Regions from separate parts of the Homo sapiens genome. Here region 2 is linked to region 1. Evidence: promoter capture Hi-C in 16 types of primary human blood cells and fetal thymus (Javierre and others, 2016). All regions are on one chromosome and are shown on one strand. The core of a region is centred on a gene start or on the middle of the fragment in contact, and the rest is flanking DNA. Distances in the headings are between cores, read along the strand shown.

Region 1 (3,640 bases), core at 547-3,046:
AATAAACATAAGAAAATATCTCTCCCCAGCACTACCCGGTCCCCCAGTATCACCATCCTAAAGGCACTTCCACTTCCTCTATCATCAGGGAAGGAGTGTGCAGTTCTGATTTAGCTCCTCAGTGGAGTAAAGGGAATTTAGAGGAAGGGGGATTTCTGCAGAAATTGTCAGTTACACAAGTAAGTTCCTCTTGGTTCCCCGTTTCATCAAAAGTGAAAAACTGTTCACAGGAGTGCCCATGTCCCCTGTTTCCCTATGCATCACTAGAGCCAAGAGGGGACTCCGCCAGCAAGGCACCCTCTGCTCTGTCCCGCAGATCACAGTCCCCGACTTTCACCCCATTGTTTGTGCAATGTGCAGAACTGGAGCCCAAAGCAGCGGGCTCAGGATCACTCTCCAGGCCCGGCGGGCCCATAGACTCCTTCCTTGGCTGGGAAGAGGGGCTTTCGTGAAAGCAGAGCTTGACAAGCCCCAGTACTGTCATGGTCAAGATCACCAACACTACTACTGCTGTGCTCACAAATATGAAGACCACGGCAGAGGAGGAGTCGAAAGCCTGAGGAGTGGCAGAGGAAGTCGTAGAATTAAACTTGGAAATCACGCTCCCTGATGGGGTGATAGTGGCCTTTGACTCGGCTTGAAGGGACATTTGAAGGGTAGACATCGTGCTCTGTGATCCCCATCGAGGAATCTCAGGAATAGATGTTACTGAATTGTCTTGTTCAGGGACAAGTGGTGTCTCTCCCAGCTTCTCGTCGACCCTGATTGGCCATGTTCTCTGCGGCACGGGGCTGGTTGCAGTGGCCGGCGGGCGCCTGGTGGGCACCCCGGTCCCCCCAAGGGTCGGCTGTCCTTCCCCACTGGTCACACAAGAGCGGCCGTCCTTCCCCAGCTCGAAGCCCGTAGCACATTCGCAGGCAAAGCCTCCCAAGTCGTCTAGGCAGTTAGGGAGCTCTGCGCATTTGCCAGCACGGAGGTACCTCCCGGGGCAGGGACACAACACATCGCCCGAGAGTTTGTCCCAGCGAGCGCCGATTTCGTCCGCGATGCAAGTAACTGAGATCGGGAGCTGTCCCCGGCAGAGCGCACTCACCTCGGTCCCAGGTGGACTGAAGTCCAGAGCGGCGCTGTGCAGCTGGAAGGGCGCGCGATAGCTCAAGTTAGAGGCGGCCCCGGGGCGCGGCGCAGGACACAAGACCTCAAACTGGTACTTGCACAGGTAGCCGTTGGCGCGCAGGTGGCATCGCATCTCCTTCCAGCCTGCGGGCTCGACCCCACCGGTGGCCTGGAGTACCGCGCATCTCCGCGCGGTGCAGGAGCGTTGGGGCTCCTCCACCCACTGCAGCGTGTCGCTTTCGAGACCGCCGGGGTCGGAGGACAGCCAGGAGAAACCCCGCAAAGGCTCGTTCTCCAGGGTGCAGTGGGAACGCCTGCGCTCCAGTGCGACCCAGAACAGCAGGTCTTTGGAGCCCCCTCCGGGCCCTGGGCCTGCCCGCAGGAGCGCGAGCACAGCGCGCAGCTCGGCGCCCGCACGCACGGTGCTGAGCGCCCCACCTCGCAGGATGCAGGCCTCCTCGGCCGCCTGCCGCTTCATGGTAGCGTGGTGCAGGCTGTAGCAGGCCCCCGAGGCCGAGCAGCCAGCACGGTCGGCAGTGGGGTGTTCGCCGCCGCCCGGCCCGGGCCAGAGCGCCTGCCAGAGGAGGCACAGGGCGAACGCCGGCCTCATTCTCTGAGGCCCCGCACGCAGAGCTGCTCCCAACTTGGATCTGTCCCGCTCGAGGACGCAGAGCTGTGTCTGGAGCGCGGTCACCGCCCTCTACAGCTGGCTTCCCCAACCCGGTTCCCCCTCCCTTCCCCTCCGCCCTCGCTCCCGACGGACCCCCCAACTGCCAAGAATCCCCCCGCGGGCCCAGCGGCCAACAGTTTCCCTTAGGCCGCGACAGGAAATGTGTGCGGAGCGCTGCCAGGCCCGGTGCAGCCCTGAGTTATTCTGGGGTCAGGAACACAGCTGGCGCCGGGTACAGGGGACGCAGTCGACTAGAAGGTCAAACACCCTGCTTAGAGCAAGAGGAGAAATTCGCCACTGGGATGAAGTGTGTGGTTTTTCTCCGTTCAGGGAGTTTCATCAGGACCGCAGAACCCATAACACGTAAGCGAACATAGGCAGGAAGGACTTGAGAAAGGAACTGGCTTATGATTATAAGACCACGCCCGTCTATTGTGTTTCTGTCCGGAGCTGTGGAGTTAGCGTCAGAATAATTCGTAGACGGCTCCAGTGTTTGGGGGGCCTGTGCCTGTGGGGGAAAAATATGTTGTGAAACAACTTAGCAACTGCTTTTGCCACCAGAGGCAGCACTATTTAACCGCATATCTCTCTATGGGTCTTTGCTTCTCTATTATGTCAAGAGATTTCAGGAGTCCTAACTACTAAAGAATTTGGAGTTGTTTGGGTATTTTAAATGGGAAATTCTGCTTCTTCCATCAGCACTTGCTTTAGAAATTTATTTTTCACTTCCACGTGTTTCTCTTTGAGTTAGACCATATTGATTCATTACAGAAAGGAAATGTATTTCTAGGACTAAATGAAAAATAATGACCATAGATCTTAACAGTTAGGTTGTTAGCTTTCCTTGCCACTGTATTGGTTCAAAAATTCTTCAAGTTTATAGGTTATACATAAATGAGTTCGTGGCCTTATAAATATTCGAGAACAACTGCCCTATGTGTGATTTTAGCCTTGAACTATTTTAGTATCATTTTCTCCTATGATTGAGTGGCAGCATTTATAATAGTAAGTTGTAAACATCTCCTTTAAGGAAAATTAGAGTTCCTTAAGAAATTAAAATGTTTATTCCATTATAATGAATATTGTATACTGTCAAAAAATATCTTGTAATTTGAAAGATGGGTGAGCCAATTTCTTTAGAATTCCAGTGGGTGTTTTGTTTTAATATAAACATTTCAACTCAGTGGGAAGTGGCAAGGAATTAAAGATGAATAAAGAAGTAAAGGTTAAAAACTGTACTGTTATGAAAGGATTTCTTGTTAGCAACTTAGACAATTCAGTATCAGTTTAGAAAACGTACATTCTATCTTGGTTCATAATGGCCAAATACGTTGCCATCAGAAATACATAGAGAGTTTCAGCTAAGCCCTCTTAGAGATGTCTGATGCTTTTAAATATCTTTAATCAGAATGAAAGTTGCCATTCCATGGATAATGCATATAAGCTCACTTTGTTTTACTGCATTCAGGTTGATGAGGGGTGGGAGGGAAGGTTTCAGGATCACATCTGTATGCTTCCATCTTATTTTTACCATAACTCTCATTCTTCTTTCCTCCTGGAAATTCCATGTATCTTAACAAACAACAGTAAGCCTATGAGTCATCATCATACTTACCTTGCTTTTGCTGAGTATGGAGCTTTGCACTAGGATTTCTCTCCTGCCCTATTTCCCAATTTAAAGAACATTCCTTAGTCCTTCCTTCAGATGTCTGAGAATCACCTTAAACGTGGCTTTGCGTTTAAATTAGGTAACTTAGTGTCTTATAAGAAAGAAACATGAAAATCCAGAAATCAAATTGAATGGTTTTTAAAAAATACTTAGTCACTTGGGCCAGCTCTCTATAGACCATTGCA
Region 2 (3,640 bases), core at 627-3,126, 130 kb after region 1:
ATAAATGAGAGGAACGTTTACTAGGAAGACTATCATAATGATTGTTTATGTGCTTTACAGTATGGAAGACAAGAACATAAGTGTCACATAAAGTAAATTGTGTATAAGCTGTTTCTTTTTTTTTTTTTTTAAAGGTGGTGTTTCTGAAACTTTAAAAAGTAAATTAAGAGAGAGTGAGGCAAAGGTGCACAGGGGCCAGGTCACCATGAGGAAAGGGGATGTCAAGCAATAGAACAGCAATTGAACGTCTGCCCACATGGATTCACCGAGCCCCCTTGGGGTGCCAAGAAAAGAGAAAGAAGGAGAGAATAAATACACTGATTTCCAGATGGTAGAGTGGGTGGTAAAGAGAAGGAAAATAGAGGAGTTAGAGATAAACAACAGCTGTAGTAAAAGAAAAAAGAAAAAGCAGCATGACGATGCTAGGTGAGCTTAGTCAGAAGACAGTATTCTGTCTGGGACTAAAATCCTCTGATTAGGAACAAGTAAAGGGGAGTATTTACAGAATTTGTGCTGGTAAAGAGATTAGCGACAGTGAATGGAGACAGAAACAGCCTCCTAATGTGGCACAGCTTAGGCATTTGACTGAGGCTTGAGAATAGTGGAAGAGATTAGTCAAAAGGCAAGTCAATTGAGTCCAGGGAAGCTTTGAAGCACTAATTAAAAACATACACAGAGTAAGTACCATTATCAGGAAGAAAACAACACAAATAAGAACACACAAAAAAAACTGGAGATGTGGCCTAAGGAACTCTCAGAGAAGAGAAATTGGATGTATTCTTAGGGAAAAAAAAACAAAGGCTGATGGGGCAGAAGAGACAAATTTTTATGATAAAAGAATACTAAATAACTATGTAGATACTCTCCATTCCAGGAGGAGGATCACTATTCCTAGCCCTTCTTCTACAAGAGTGAGCTGTAATTAGTGACTTGCTTCCATAGAATAGGGTAAGAGAAATCTGACAAACGCTATCCTAACCAAGTAATGAAGGTTAACATCACCAGTGACTTCACATGGATATCACGTACCCCTTGACATAATGTGGTGAGATAGGCACTTTGGCTCTATGGGATACTTTCCAAGAACTCATAACCTAATTCTAATTATGAGAAAAACATCAGACACATCCAGAGTTGGGGAAATTCTACAAGATACCTAGTCAATACTCTTCAAGACTGTTAAGGTCACGAAAAACACAGAAAGACTAAGAAATGGTCACAGACCAGAAGAGACTGGAGGGGCATGAAAATTAAAAGTAATGTGATACATTAGACTGGATCCTGAAACAGAGAGAAGAGATTGGTGGAGTAACTGGTGAAATCCAAAAGTGTGGAGTTAGTTAACAGTACTGTGCCAAAGTTGATTTCTTAGTTTTGATGACTGTACCATGGTAATGTAAGATGCTAACAATAGGGAAAAGGAGCAAAGGGTGTCTATTAGGGGACTTGCTGTACTATCTCTACATTGTTTCTATAAATCTAAAATTATTCAAATTTAAAGCAGCTTTTCAAAAAAGATGATAGCATGTTAAAAGGACACAGGAGCCAACTGAAATAGCTCCTCGTGGATCAATGGTGATAGAATTGGATTATAACCCAAGGAATAAAATAAATATCCATGATTTTATATTAATATGAGTAAATAAATAAATTAATTATTGGGGAAGAGGACAACTGTTTCTTACAGAAGAATTCCAATTAATAAATGCAGAAGAAATGAAGGAGATAGAAAACACCATTAGAACACTAGAGTAGTAATCACTACAGCCATGATCAACCAATAAATGCTAAAATTAGTGAGAGAAAGTTTATGGAGCAACAAGATAGCTTCCAATTACCTTACTGAAAATATTTATTAATTACAAAAGGGAAAGCAGTAACTTTTCATGGAGAAGCCTGGCAGACACCATCTTAAACAAGAGATCAAGGTTAACATCACTTCATTTTATAAGATATGAGCAAACATAAGACAAATCCAAAATGCAAGACATTTTACAAACCCCTGAACATTAGTTTTCAAAAGTGTCAAGGTCGAAAGACAAGGAAAGACAGAGAAACTGTCACAGATCAAAAGCAGCTAAGGAGACATGACAACTAAATACAATATAGGATCCTGGATTGATTACTGGAACAGAATAAGGACCCAAGTGAACTAAGTTGATAGTTTAGTTAATAGTATTGTACCAATGTTAGTTTCTAGGTTTTATGAGTATATCACTGTATGGCAATATGTTAACATTAAGCGAAATTGGAGAAATGAAACATTGCAAGTCTTTGTACTGTCTCTGCAACTTTTCTGTAAGTCTAAAATTATTTCAAAATTTAGAATTAGAAAACATATGAAACACACACACACACACACACACACACATACACATAAACAAAGGCCAAACAAAGAAAGCTCACTTGAGGTTTTGTGCCAAAGTACTACCAGATGCTCCACTTCCACTTCAGAATTCTGACTAATAGCATATGTTCACAAACAACGGAGATAACTGGTTGATCCATATGCTTTACTCCAAGACAACTTTGTTAGTATGTCTAGAGAACACAGGGGGTCTCCCATGACCCTCACTAAACCTAGGCTCTGGGAATCACATCTCCCACACTTCAGTGCCCAATCCCATCAGACAAGCTAGAGAATGACACGCCTCCCACCACACTGGGGAAAATCTGTCCTCTTTTGTTCACCAAGAGGGAAAAGGTAAAGAAGCAGCAGTAACATATGATTTGAAAGCAACAAGTCCAAGGAGATGTTTAAAAGGTGAACTGAGACATAATAACATTCTTTAAGAGTTTATTTGCACAAACAGCAATTCAGGCATCTGGCAGCTCCAAACCAGAAGTAGCTTGGGAGCTCCATAAAGGAAACATATAGATGAATAGGAAAGTAAAGCAAAGGAAATATTTGATGGGTTACCTACACACAGTTGGCTTATTTGGTCTATCCCATTGGAAAGTCTCTAGTTGTATCATTATAAGTTAGTTGGCTACTTTTGATTGGTTGAGACTAAGTTCTGTTGTTCTTCAAGATAGACATTTACAAGAAATAGCTCAAGTTAAGTTTTGCTTATGTTTGGAAATCAAGCAAGGTTAAGGTCATGTATGAAGCTTAACTGACTTTGTCTGCTCAGTGATTCGTCAAGCCTGGTCTCTATTTTCATTTACTTTAACAAGCATGAGAGGAACAAGCTGAGGCCCCTGCTTTCAGTGTTGTCACAGCCCCCTGTTACCAGGGCCAGTGGATGCCAAGCTCTCCCTCATTCCTTGTCTCATCAATCAGATGGATTGCTCCTTTACCCAGGGTGAGACTGCATGAAATAAGTATCCATAGGTGTTTTTCCAATATGATCGTCTCTTGATGTGTGCATTGAAAATCCTTTCATAGAAACATAAGAATGAAGGGAATAAGGGTTTTGTCTAAAATTTAATAAAACAAAAACTTTCTCAAAGGATGAATCATGAAAATATTTATTTTTTGCTTTACTCTCCATGGTATGGTTAAAAGATATGCTATATTTTTCAGAAAATACAGGATCGAGGATAAAAAGGAGATTAGGGAAAATGAAACTTATAAAACTTTATACTTCCCAAAGGAAATATATAAAGGGAAACTTGTTTAAGAATATGGCAACATCTC

What was found. Contacts are between HindIII fragments. The CHiCAGO score rates a contact against its expected background, and 5 or more counts as called.
Region 2: a contact is called between a fragment that was not itself captured here and the fragment with the promoter of CLEC14A in region 1, in 1 of 17 cell types (endothelial precursors). The highest score is 5.2, in endothelial precursors.

Annotation. Positions count from the first base shown.
Region 1 is chr14:38,254,297-38,257,936 of GRCh38, forward strand. It overlaps CLEC14A (C-type lectin domain containing 14A), which reads right to left and starts at 1,797. Exons shown (of 1, transcript NM_175060.3): 1 at 1-1,797. The coding sequence starts at 1,726. The coding sequence ends at 254. It overlaps LOC112268136 (a long non-coding RNA gene), which reads left to right and starts at 1,749. Exons shown (of 5, transcript NR_169588.1): 1 at 1,749-2,149. RefSeq lists an enhancer at 979-1,606. The HindIII fragment of the contact is 4,914 bases long and covers 1-3,640 here.
Region 2 is chr14:38,387,435-38,391,074 of GRCh38, forward strand. No RefSeq gene overlaps it. Among named protein-coding and RNA genes, the nearest start is that of CLEC14A, 130 kb to the left of the region's middle. The HindIII fragment of the contact is 2,465 bases long and covers 645-3,109 here.